3 separate regions of the Homo sapiens genome follow, and regions 1 and 2 are each linked to region 3. The links are contacts of gene promoters, found by promoter capture Hi-C in blood cells and fetal thymus (Javierre and others, 2016). All regions are on one chromosome and are shown on one strand. The core of a region is centred on a gene start or on the middle of the fragment in contact, and the rest is flanking DNA. Distances in the headings are between cores, read along the strand shown.

Evidence for each region. The method cuts DNA at HindIII sites, captures the fragments that hold promoters and counts their contacts. A CHiCAGO score of 5 or more calls a contact.
Region 1: a contact is called between a fragment that was not itself captured here and the fragment with the promoter of LRRC8B in region 3, in 2 of 17 cell types (activated CD4 T cells and total CD4 T cells). The highest score is 6.9, in activated CD4 T cells.
Region 2: a contact is called between a fragment that was not itself captured here and the fragment with the promoter of LRRC8B in region 3, in 1 of 17 cell types (non-activated CD4 T cells). The highest score is 5.8, in non-activated CD4 T cells.

The regions. Positions count from the first base shown.
Region 1 is chr1:89,726,308-89,730,287 of GRCh38, reverse strand. No RefSeq gene overlaps it. Among named protein-coding and RNA genes, the nearest start is that of LRRC8D, 93 kb to the left of the region's middle. The HindIII fragment of the contact is 3,210 bases long and covers 1,014-3,980 here.
Region 2 is chr1:89,742,783-89,747,006 of GRCh38, reverse strand. LOC107985743 (a long non-coding RNA gene) reads right to left here and starts at 3,194. Exons shown (of 3, transcript XR_002958333.2): 1 at 3,011-3,194; 2 at 1,195-2,009. The HindIII fragment of the contact is 1,624 bases long and covers 1,307-2,930 here.
Region 3 is chr1:89,522,376-89,526,382 of GRCh38, reverse strand. LRRC8B (leucine rich repeat containing 8 VRAC subunit B) reads right to left here and starts at 1,554. Exons shown (of 6, transcript NM_001369817.2): 1 at 1,361-1,554. RefSeq lists enhancers at 1-27, 28-529 and a silencer at 1,231-1,690. The HindIII fragment of the contact is 21,216 bases long and covers 1-4,007 here.

The DNA of each region.
Region 1 (3,980 bases), core at 1,369-3,868, 200 kb before region 3:
CCTCCAGAGTCTTTCTGGGTCTTCATCTAATTTCCCTTCTAATGTTACAGCATATTGCTGGCAGAAGGTGCATCTGTGAGTGCCAAGCCTAGATACTTTTTTCTCTCTTAAATAAAAAAATCACAATTAATATATAATTCTTAGAGGAAAAATTCTAAAATACTGATATATATAAAGAATAAAAGAGAGTGCACTTATACTCCCACCACTGAATGACAATCTCTGTTTGCATTTGGATGTATATCTTCTTCCATTTTTTTTTTTTTTTTTTTTTTTTGAGACAGAGTCTCACTCTGTTGCCCAGGCTGGAGTGCAGTGGTGTGATCTTGGCCCACTGCAATCTCTGCCTCCCGGGTTCAAGTGATTCTCCTGCCTCAGCCTCCTGAGTAGCTGAGAGAACAGGTGTGCACCACCACGCCCAGCTACTTTTTGTATTTTTAGTAGAGATGGGGTTTCATCATGTTGGCCAGGATGGTCTCAATCTCTTCACCACAGGTGACCCGCCTGCCTCAGCCTCCCAAAGTACTGGGATTACAGGTGTGAGCCACAGTTCCTGGCCCCAATTTTTAAATATATATATATTCTTTCTTGCATAAGTGAGATCACACTGTGCTTAATTTTAAAAATTTACTTTTTTCAATTAACACATAATGAATTACACGTCAATAAATGTATTTGTAACATTATTTTAAATGTCTACCTAGTGCTTTATTGTAAAAATGTATCATTCTCATTTTTGGAAGCTTAGATTGTTTTCATTTCTCCCACCCATCATGTTGGTGATGTGATGGTTCTCCCTCTGCCTAAGTGTTTTCCAGGGATCTGCCAATCTGACTCTATTCCCTTCCAAGGGAGAAACAAGGAATGACCTCCTTTGGGGCCTTAGCGGGTGTCAGGGAAAAGTGATTATAAGCCTGCTTAGACCAACCCAGGAAGAAACCAGCCATATTAATGGGTTCAGAGTGTTATTCTGAGTTCAGTGGGCAAGGGTTAGTGGATTCTCCAAAAAAGCTTACCTGCTAATGCTTTTTTGGGAGGCGCCACGGCAGGGTTGCAAAAATAAGAGAAAAGGAAAATCCAGGCTGGGAGGAAGGAAAGTGAATATTCATTAATGAGTTGGTCACAGCTTCATGACAAAACAGCCTGTTGCTTGGTGGTATGAGACATCCCTGGCAGGACAAACCAAACCACTCAGCCTAGGAATCACCCACAGGAGGAAGGGAGGGCGTAGAATTTATTGGCAGTCCCCTCAGGGTCTTTTTTTTTTTTCTCTATTTGGTCAAATTTCACCCTACGGGCATAAACTGCCTCTCACTTTCAGGTTGTGTCACCTGGTCCCTCTGAAGAGCCACTGTAGGGGCCAGTCTCATATTCCAAACTGCGCTGCTTCCTCTGTAACGGAAAGTGGTGGGAAGAGTCAGAGTCTCCCAGGGTGTGGTCAGGGAAGCGTGGGTGCCAGAGATGCTGTGGCTCCCTGCTATGGCAGAGAGGGTCCTGCCAGAGGCTGAGGCAGGGGTTGCAAAATAATTAAGCAATGGCACCATCAGAGGAGAAGTGTGCTCTCTAGCGTTTCAACCTGTGGTCTTCCCATTAGCATCAAAGCCCTTGGTTGGGAGAACCAAGGCATTCTGCAGAGTGCTGTCCAGAAGAAACACTAAGACCCGTGCTACCCAGGAGGGTAGGGCAGGAACACAGCATTAGAAAGAATGGGAAAATGAAACTAAGTTCTGTGGGCAGGAAAGCTCCACCTTTCCTCTGGAGACAGAAAAAGAGCAAGAGTCCTAATGGGGACACTTGGCTAACCAAGCTACGTCTTCCACTGTGTCTCTCGCCCTGAGTTATCCAGCCCACAGGGCTCCAAGCAGGCAGATTGGACTTACCTGGGGAGCAGGCTTGAAGGAGGATAAGCAGATACAAACTTTTGCACATCCTCATATACCCTGAGAATGGCACCTCACAGATGAGCACACCGGTACGATAAGGGGCAGAGGGAGGAAGAGAGCTTTGCACTGAGAATGGCGCTCAGAGTTCAGGTAAACTGGGTGGTTTCCTTTTGACTTTGTAGACATGAAACAGGGCAAATTCCCGTTAATCGGCTGGAAAACAGCAGCAAAGCGAAGGAAGAAACCGGGGTGTGAAATAAGGAGGAAGAGGCAGGGACAAAGGACAATGGGCCTGCTGGGTAGTTTTCCTGAGGTCTAGTGATGCCAAGAACAAGCTGAAGTAACACATTAATGTTTATGAGTCTCATGCACCATGAAATTTGATTGGGGCATTGTTAATCTGCCGACTCTTGGCTTCTCTCTGTAGCCTTTGGATTTCTAAAAAACGAGATGGTAGTTTCTTTCTTTTTACAAGAATTTGAACACAGGGAGGAGGCTCCAGACAGACTGTAAGATTATCCTGCCTTTGAATTTAACTGAGGATGGGCTTAAACACCTTCCCCAGTTTCCCACTGCTGGAGGATAAAATAAAGAGGTCTCTGGCATGGGTGGAATACACAGGGCACCCTCAAGCTGATCCTCACATCTTTCCATCTTTACCTCTCATCCATTCCAATGGCCGTGACCCTTCCCTGGCACCAAGCCCTCCAAATGACATCACGTGATCTCTCAGGCCTCTGTCCCCACCCTAAAAGCTCTTTCCCTGACGTCCTCTCATTTCTCTTCTGGGGATCACCTGCATCAAGACTCAGTTCAGGTTCATCTCCTGAAATCTTTCCCATGGCCAGGTGACTCTGGCCCACTTTCCCCGCTGCTCCTAGTGTGAACAGACTTCTGGGTTAGCTCTTACAACACATTGTAGCTATCTGAATGCATGGAGGCCTTTTCCTATTAGATTATGGACTTTTTGAGAACAAGGATCACAGTATTGATTTTTGGTCCTTAAGTATCTAGAACAGTATGTGCTACCTGGAAGGTGCCCAGAAAATGCTGGTTGGTTGAAAAAGCAGTTGTGTTGCCAGAGGACTTCACTTACACACTCACTGCATCACTTATCCTGCTGCCCAGTGGTAGCTGTTTAGCTGTGACTCTTCCATGATGCTCTAGCTCCTTAAGGACAAAGATACAAACTTGCTGCCCTTACAACAATGTCTAGCACATTCTGGGTGTTAAAAAATGTTGACTTTAGGAAAATGTGCAGTATTGTAGATAATTTTTATATTATCCAGAGCCAGAGTTCAGTCTATAGTCATCATGAGACTAGCAAGTTTTCTGAGTACAAGCATTGAGCTAGGCACATCACATACCTCAGGCCACTGATCCTCGCAGGAACTTTTAAAGTGGGTTTCCATTTTACAGATGAGGAGGATGTAGCTCAAGGAGCTAACTGATTTGCTCCAAAACACACATGCAGAAAGCGGCAGAGATGGGATGTAAACTCTGGACCAAATGTGTAATGGCCATGCATTACATCAGGGCCTCCCAGGCTCAGATTCTCTGATGCAGCCAAAGTTTTGGCTGTAGCCCTTAGTGCCTATAATGCCAGCTACCTGTCAACATCTGAACTTCAGAGAAAAGGGAACAAACCGTCTTCCCCAACTCCACTCAGTTCTTCTCCCAGCCCACCTAACTGCTCCATGATATAGCTAATTAGGCACTTGGCTGAGGGTGGGACCAGCATCAAGACATTTTACTACTTTCTGGGAAGGGTCAATACTTGGATATCTTCAATATAAACAGAGGCTGGAGAGTTTAAATAAACTTGCTCAAAGTCATGCATCAGGTAAATGGATAGTAAGAATTGGAACTCCTTTTGGACTCCAGGACTTGTGCTGGAAATGCAGGTCAAGCCTATCTTGTGGTCCACCTCGAAAGTCAGGGTAAGGCCCACAGACAATATCAAGAAGACACTGGGAAGGTTTTTGAGCAGAGGAGCAATAAGGTCAGAGTTACAGCTGGGAACACTAGTCTAATGGTGGAGAAGAGGAGAGAGTCTAGTGTGGAAGCGGGAGTGGCTGATGACGAGATTATTTAGGA
Region 2 (4,224 bases), core at 869-3,368, 220 kb before region 3:
ATCACCTTTACTCACCATCCATTGGCTGGAGGAAGTCACATGGCTCCAACCCAATTGCAACAGCGTTTGGGTAAAGCAAGGGAGTACATGGCATATTTGGCAAGAATTGTCTTTGCCACAGTGTGCTTATTGAATCTATGTATATCATAAAACATGGATGGTTAGTTAATATGTTTGATAGAATTAAAATTCAAAAATATCTCAACCGGGTGGAAAGATATACTAAATTAACAAAGAGATATTTAGGAAGATTAAATATAAAGTCCTACACTTTTGTTAAATTAAAAATGAACTATTTTAGTACAAGGTGGAAAATACCTTCCTTGACACATTTCAAGTAAAAGAAAACCACACAAAACAAATGGTTTTAGTTAACCACATGCTCAGTATGAATCCCAGGGCCTGCCAAAGAAATCTAAAGTAATCATAGCAGCATTAATGGATGTATGAAGTTTACAATAAAATCGATAACAATCCCCTTGTTCTCTTGGTTGGCTAGAGCACATCTGCTGGTGGGTTCAACAAAAGGGGCTCCCTTTAAAGAAGAAGACTGAGAAGCTGGAATGAATCCAGAGGAAAGTGAGTAGGATCCTGAGGTTTGTTGAAAGACATGGGGAAAACACTAGACTTCAGATGAAGAGATTCAGGTTTAAGTTTTGAAATTGCCACTTCCAGATGACATTGGGCAAAATCTACTCCCCACCTCTACCCAAAGCTGCATTTCTTCTCTCTAAACCTTATCTTCCTCCCGGGCAAAGAGGGAGATCTGTACTTGAATTTCTGAGGCCCTTTCCAACTTGAAAGTTTGGAAGCTACAAAATTACATCATCTGAGAACAGTTGAAGGAATCAGGGGAGATGTAGCCTAGAGCAGGAAATATTGAACGGGAACATAGGATCTGCTTTAATTATTTGAAAGGTCATCATGAGAAAAAGAAATTTAGATTTGCTCTGCGTGTCACTCAAGAACAGATCTATGGCCAGAGGGAAGAGGGTGTGGAGAATATTCTGATTGTCGGCACTTCCTAATGATGGAATGGGCTACCGTGTGAGACAGGGATCATTTAGCAGAAGCAAGACAGAAGTTCCCTTCTAGATCCTCCAAAAGTACCTGGCACAATTATATAAATCTGTGTGAGAACTACATAAACAATTTATCATGAGAACCTGCAGAAATCCCTCCAAATGTGCTCACCTCCAATCCACTTAGTCCATATTTGTCACCCATCAGCATCTTGGGTATCTTCTTTTTCTGGCTCTGTATACTTGATAACCTTCTTCCAACTTGGTGCTGAGATTGACAAGCTTATTTGGTGTTCTCCTTCTAGGTTGTGACCTTTACCCCTCTTTAAGACATAACTTTTTCTATCTGCTATTTGGCCCTTCAGACTGCAACTTTGGGCAATAGATGTCACAGTCGATGGCCTTCCCTAGCCAACAGAACAGTGTGCATTTAAACTGACTCCTCTGATGTTTTTATGTGATATGGGAGGGATATAGGACATTAGACTCCCTGTCAGGGCCACATAGAATAATCCTACCTTGGGTGGGAGGTTGGACTTGATGATCACTGAAGTCCTCTACCACTCTCAGATTCTATGATTTTAAGATTTATATTTACCACTGTTCACAGAAATAGAAAGTTTCAATGATTCTTTATCAGTGGTGATGCTCTTCCCAGAATGCCACCATTTAATAAGTCTCATATATGTACACATACTTCTGCTCCTGGACTTTGCAACTGACCTACTTTTAAAGCTCTTGGAGCAGCTCATGGAGATGAACTAATGCTTCTTAGTTTATTTGTTTCTGGTGTCCTGAATGACCAAAGGAAGCTCACGAAGTACAGCTGGCTAGAGAAGAAGGGAAAGCAGCATCAGTCGTGGAGCGGTGCTGATGATCCATGTGGTCAAACCATGGCTTTGGACTCTTTGGTTCTTGAGTTACCGAGAATCCAAGGCTGTTTGAAGAATGGCAAGGAGGAAAATCTGGCCATAGCTGTGTTGACTCCTAGAATGGTTAGATTCCAATGGAAAACAACAGAAGGTTAAGACCCTGGTTCCACAGGTATCCTGTACAATGGCTCTTCCTCTTCACAGTGATCTTATTAAAAACCCTGAATCTGATCATCACTCCACTAATACTCTCCAACTGTACTTATAATAATATCCAAACTCCATATCATGGCCTTAATGGTCTGATTCCTGTGTCTCTCTCCAGCCCTATTTCATATACTTATTCTAATATTTACTTCTTGAGGGCAGAAACCTTTTCTTATGTCCTGCTGCACCTGCAATATTGAGACCAGCACTTGGCACAAACCTCAATACCTGTTGGTTAAATAAATGAAACCAGGCTGGGCGCAGTGACTCATGCCTGTAATCCCAGCATTTTGGAAGGCTGAGGCAGGTGGATCACTTGAGGCCAGGAGTTTGAGACCAGCCTGGCCATCGTGGTGAAACCCCATCTCTACTAAAATACAAAAAATTAGCCAGGTGTGGTGGCACACACCTGTAATCTCAGCTACTCAGGAGGCTGAGGCAGGAGAATCACTTTAACCCAGGAAGCAGAGGTTGCAGTGAGCCAAGATTGCGCCGCTGAACTCTAGCCTGGGTGACAGAGTGAGACTGTATCTCAAAAAATAAATAAATAAATAATAATTAAAAAAATGAAACCAGTCTTGACTTCCAAAGGACTTTACTAAGTTCGTATAACGGAACCTCTCATCACTATATTCTTAAGAAGAAACCCTTTTTTGAACCCCCACCCCTATATTTCCATGACGCTTCAGGGATGAAAAGCACTCGTTTGATTACTGAGAGGATAGCTGGAGAAGTGAAGAATAATGTGATGTTCAGCTCAAACTCCTTGGGGGAATTCGGTTGTGAAAATGGAATTACCCAAGTTGGATTCCGCCCAGGATGCCAAGCTTAAGTTATTGGGTAAGTGCACATTAGAAAAATGAATTTTGGCAGCTGCCAAAATATTCTCTTTATGTGAAAGTAAGTGACCTTGGGTTTAGTTTCTGTTAACGGCTGGCTTTTTCTGGCAGAGGCAAGAGATGGATACTTTGCAATGGTTTTGCAATGACAGCAGCAGTACCAGGAAACTTGCGGGTTGTTACAGTGCATCCATTTCTCAGCATCCATTATAGTTAGGAATGTGATGGACCAAATGTGCTTTTTATTTTGCCAGTGTTTGGACTCTTCATTTGGAGAATAACCCATGATTGTAGCTGACTATATTCCAAGATTCATAAGCTTTGGCGCCTGAATCAGATACCTATGGAGGAAAAAGAAGCAATTTATTCATTCCTTTCTTTTTTTTCCTCTCCCATTTAACTGTCCCAAATGTCAGTGAATGAGTCAAATGTTCAATATTTTTCCACAGGGGCTGACTTTGGAGAAGCCAGTACAGTCCATCATACTGTTTTCTCAACTAGTTCATCGTGACATTCTGAGATTTTGAAAGGACACCTTTTCCGTGTCAAGCCGTCCCAGGGTGGCTAATATGCCTTTGCTCATTTTTGACAAGACAGAGGGAGGACAGGGTGACAACACAGCAGGATAAAAGGGGAGAGAGTGGCTGGATGCTGGCTGTTTATGCGTGGATGTTGAGAGTGGAAAATGCAGATGGAACTGAGGGTAAGATGCCAGGGAGTTGCAAGAGGGCTCCTTCTCTGAATAACCTCATATTCCAGAAAACTCATAAAATTGGAAAATAGTTTTAAACAGTGGAAGCCTTCTCTGAGGCATTTATATTCCCTGTTAATAAGGTCACAAATAATCACCTTTATTATCAATCCAAATAAAGTATATGATGCTGCTCATGGTAGGATTGGGAGAGAACCACCCCAAAATACCTCCCCAACTAGCCTAGTAAGGTGCCTACAGGTTCTACCCATACTCTTTCTTTGAGTAAAAGCACTAGCTTTCAAATATCCTGAGAAAATGCTGGTATTTTAACTGGGAGAAGAAGATCAATGGACAGGGACAGGGTTGGTTTATTTAGCTGTCTGCTAAGAGTGCAAGAGATTTGCGATGGACTGAATGTTTATGTCTCTCCCAAATTCATGTATTGAAATCCTAATCCCAAGGTGGAGTATTAGGAGGTGGGGCCGGTGCACAACAGCAAGTGCTCTCACAGTGGAGAGCTCTGGGAAGGCAAAAACATCCATGTGTTTGGAGGACCCAGCAAATGAGCCAGCAGATTCATGCCAACATAG
Region 3 (4,007 bases), core at 305-2,804:
ATTAGCTGGGCGTGGTGGCGGGCCCCTGTAGTCCCCGCTACTCGGGAGGCTGAGGCAGGAGAATCACTTGAACCCAGGAGGTGGAGGTTGCAGTGAGCCGAGATCGCACTACTGCACTCCAGCCTGGGCGACAGAGTGAGACTCCGTCTCAAAACAAAACAAAGAAACAAAACAAAGAGCATTTGGGGTTCTCAGGAGGTGTAGCCTGTACACATAGAGGGTACTGGAATTGTTTAAAAAATTACACTGCAGTTTGACTTCTTTTCCATCCTCACTCCTACACCTAGGTTTAGGGGACAGAACCATCTGATAAAGATAAATCTGTTTTAAGATTTCTGGGGTGTTCTGCAAAGACTACTATATCATTTGCAAATAGGTTGTCTTTTAATAAAAATCATGCTACGTAATGTCTTCTTAATATACGCTGAACAAATTGCCTGTTTTAATTTGGCTATATATCTACAATTTAAAATGTTCATACTGTTATCTTTTACCAGTGGAGTGTTTTTTTGTTTGTTTGTTTGAAGTCTTTAGGCGAAGTGAATTTATTCAAGGAAGTTCACATGTCGGTTTTGTTCTTTTAGAGGGGTGTCTTTTTGACCACAAAGAAAAAAAAAGTTTTCCACAAATGTCATCTAACTAAAGGCAATCTATGGACTTTAGGAAGTCAGTTGAGCACACAGATTAATGAGCCAATACTGAGCCTCCTCCCTTCTGACCTCTCAGCACCTGCTCAACTAAGCTCAGGGGAAACTCTTGAGTCTTCTTCTTAAATTGGTAACGCTTGCCCTTTCTTTCTCAAACAAATCAACGCCCAACACCACCACCAAATTATAGGCAACCAACGCGTATCCAACAGCATAAAATAGTTCCCAAGAGCATAAAATAGTTCCCAACAGCGCCAGCGCAGGGGGCAAAACAGAGCGACCAAATGGGGGCACCCTCAGGGGAGTTGCGCTCATCTGGAGCGAGACGCCAGCCTGGGAAAGCGGAACCCCTTTCCCGCCCCGCCCCGAGGACTCACGCTCAGGTGCAACGCCGAGACTCCCGGGGGAAAGAGAGGTGACCGTCTCGGCGCGACCGCCCACACCTCTTGCTCCAAATGACCCCAGCACACAGGAGAGGTCCTCTCAGCGTGGGACTCCGTCTCTCCCGAAGGCAGGGAGCACAACGAAGCGGCCACTCGTCTCTGCAGCCGCGCTACCGGCCCGCAGCCTGGCTCGCAGGTGAGGCGTGAACAGGTAACCGCACCTGTTCGGCCAGCCCCACCTGCTGCGTCCCCGTATCCGGTCCTCCTCCTCCACCACCTCGGTCGGCGCGGCTCGCCCTCCTGGAACCGGGGTGTCACGCTCCGACCTACCTGCGCGACTCCAGCCCCGGACGCCCGCGCTCCCCGCGGCGTGCTCCTGGGCCGCTCCGGGCGGGCAGGCTGCGGCCCCGCGCCCGCACTTTCCCGGCTGCCGGAGGCTGCGGGCTCAGCGGGAAGCCCCGGCGCTGTCCGGCTCGCCGCCTCCGACCGGCTCCATTGTGACGCGACGCGTTCCGCTGGCCAATGGGCGCTCGGCGGCGCGAACCGCTGACTAAGTTCGCGGGTGGAGGAGGAGGGGACGGGGCGGAGGCAGGGCGCGGAGGCGGCTACCACGGTGGTGGCGGTAGCAGTGGCGGAGGAGGAGGAGGAGGAGGAAGAGGAGGAAGAGGCTGCAGTCGCTTCGGTAGCTGCTCCTGCTGTGAATTTTTCAGCTGCCTGGGCCTGAGTGTTTGCCCAGCTCTGGGGCTGCGGGAGCCAGTGACTCACCTATCACTGCTGGAAACAAAGCGCAGCTGCCATCTCCCCGAGCGCGCCATGTGGCCATCGCTGCCCCCTCGCCCAGCCTGGGGTCCGCAGGAGGTAGCGCACAGCCATACGCCCCGCGGAGCAGCTGGAAAGAGCGGGGACTGCTTTCCAGAAGCGGGAGGGAAATGGGCTTCGGCGTGTCCCCCAGGCGCGCCACACCGGTGACTTCGGCACTACACCGCGTGTGTCGGGCCCCAGCCTTCTCACGTGTGCGTCCCTGAGTAACTTGGCATTTATATAACGCGTGTTGGGCCCTGAGGGAAAGGTCGGGTGCAGCACGCGGGAACCTCCTCTTCGAAAAGGAAGTCCCCTTACTTTTCTTTACCCTGCTTAGAAAGATTGCAGGGCCCAGCCTCTGTGAGGGAGGGTTTACAGTTGTACCAACTAAGCGGCTTAAGTTCGATTCTGGCCTTCCAATACCATTGGCTTCTCTCAAATGTCGTTATCCTCAGGATAGGGAGGGGACCACATGGCCGAGGGGCGGTCCCTATACTCATAACCTGCCTTTCACTGCGATTCAACTGCAGAGACACCTCAACTACTGCCCGCTTGCTTCTCTCCCAAGTGGCACTGCATTTGAAGGCCAACAATATTCCTTACGAAACAGAATTAATCCAAACCCACAAATTCTAGGGACATAAATATTTTTATCATCCTCATCCATTTCCCCACTCTCACCCTTACCCCAGTTTTAACTCAGTCTCTGCCCTGGCTATTATCTTGAGCACACTGATTCAATTAGGCAAGATTTATGTCTTTTAGTTGCTATGGTGGTCACATCTCCATTTAAAAAAAGAAAGAAAAAACAAGTTTGTACCGGCATCTCCCAAAGGAATAAAATGAAGACGAACAGACTCAGCATTTGGGGCATCTGAGCAGTTTGTGTAAATGGGAGTATAGCAAATGCCCTATCGAGTTAATATGAGACAAGAGTTGTGTCTCAGACTGTTCAGATGAGGACTACAATTTGAGTCACCCTGAAAGGGAAAAAGAAGGCTGTCTTTGTGTCACTGATCTGTTCTTTTCTTGTTCACTCAGTCCATTCTGGAACTGCAGATATCTTTTTTCTGAGTCTTGAAGGAAAAGCTGAAAGAACATTTCTTCACTTGGTCATTCGATAAATTTTTATTGAGTTTATATGTGTGAGACACTGGGTATGCACAGATCTACAAGTCTAATTTAAATTTAGGTTTGATCCTTACAGGAGTATCTGAAATTCTCTCAGGGACTTTCTGATTAATTATTTTTGGTAGAAGAAAATTCTAAAAGACTCTGTCACTACTTTCACAGCCAGATTTACCCAAGTCTAAAATAGTGATTAAAAATTCCATCATGGATTTTAAGCACCAAAAAAATGACAGGCAGGTCTCAATCGTTTTAGAGGTTTATTTTGCCAAGGTTAAGGACATTCCCCAGGAGAAAGCACAAATACAGGAACATCTGTGATCTGTGCCTTTTGCAAAGAGAGTTTTTGAGGACTTCAGTATTTAAAGGGGAAAGAGCCAGCAGGAGGGGAAGGAGAAAAGAAAGAAAAAAAAGGGAAATGGGAAGGTAGGCAATGAGGGAAGAAGTTACATTCTTGTGAGGCTTTGATTAGTGCCCAGTGAATTCACATTTTGCGTGTGAAGAGTGGGTAGAGGAATACTGATTATGTGTTCCTCTCATGCTCAGTAAATCTACATTTTACATAAGATAAATGTGAAAATAGGGGGAAAGTCAATTATGAATTTGTCTTGGGGTGGGCAGAGGGATGATTTCCAAGTCTTGTCCTTATACCATACATATGAAGATGAGCTGTTATTGTCAGAGTGAGATTCAACAGAACTGTGTTTTAGGGCTCATTTATAGGAGGGATATGCATTCTGAAAGATTTAGGGACCCACAAGGCATTTCACTGTAAGCAATTTGTGAGGGAGGCTATCTGGGGAGATATGTGGCCTTCTATTGTTGCAGCTACCTGGTAACAACAGAAGGCAGGTTTTTAAAATTTTTTTATTTTTTATTTTATTATACTTTAAGTTTTAGGGTACATGTGCACAACGTGCAGGTTAGTTATTTATGTATACATGTGCCATGTTGGTGTGCTGCACCCAGTAACTCGTCATTTAACATTAGATATATCTCCAAATGCTATCTCTTCCCCCTCCCCCCACCCCACAACAGGCCGTGGTGT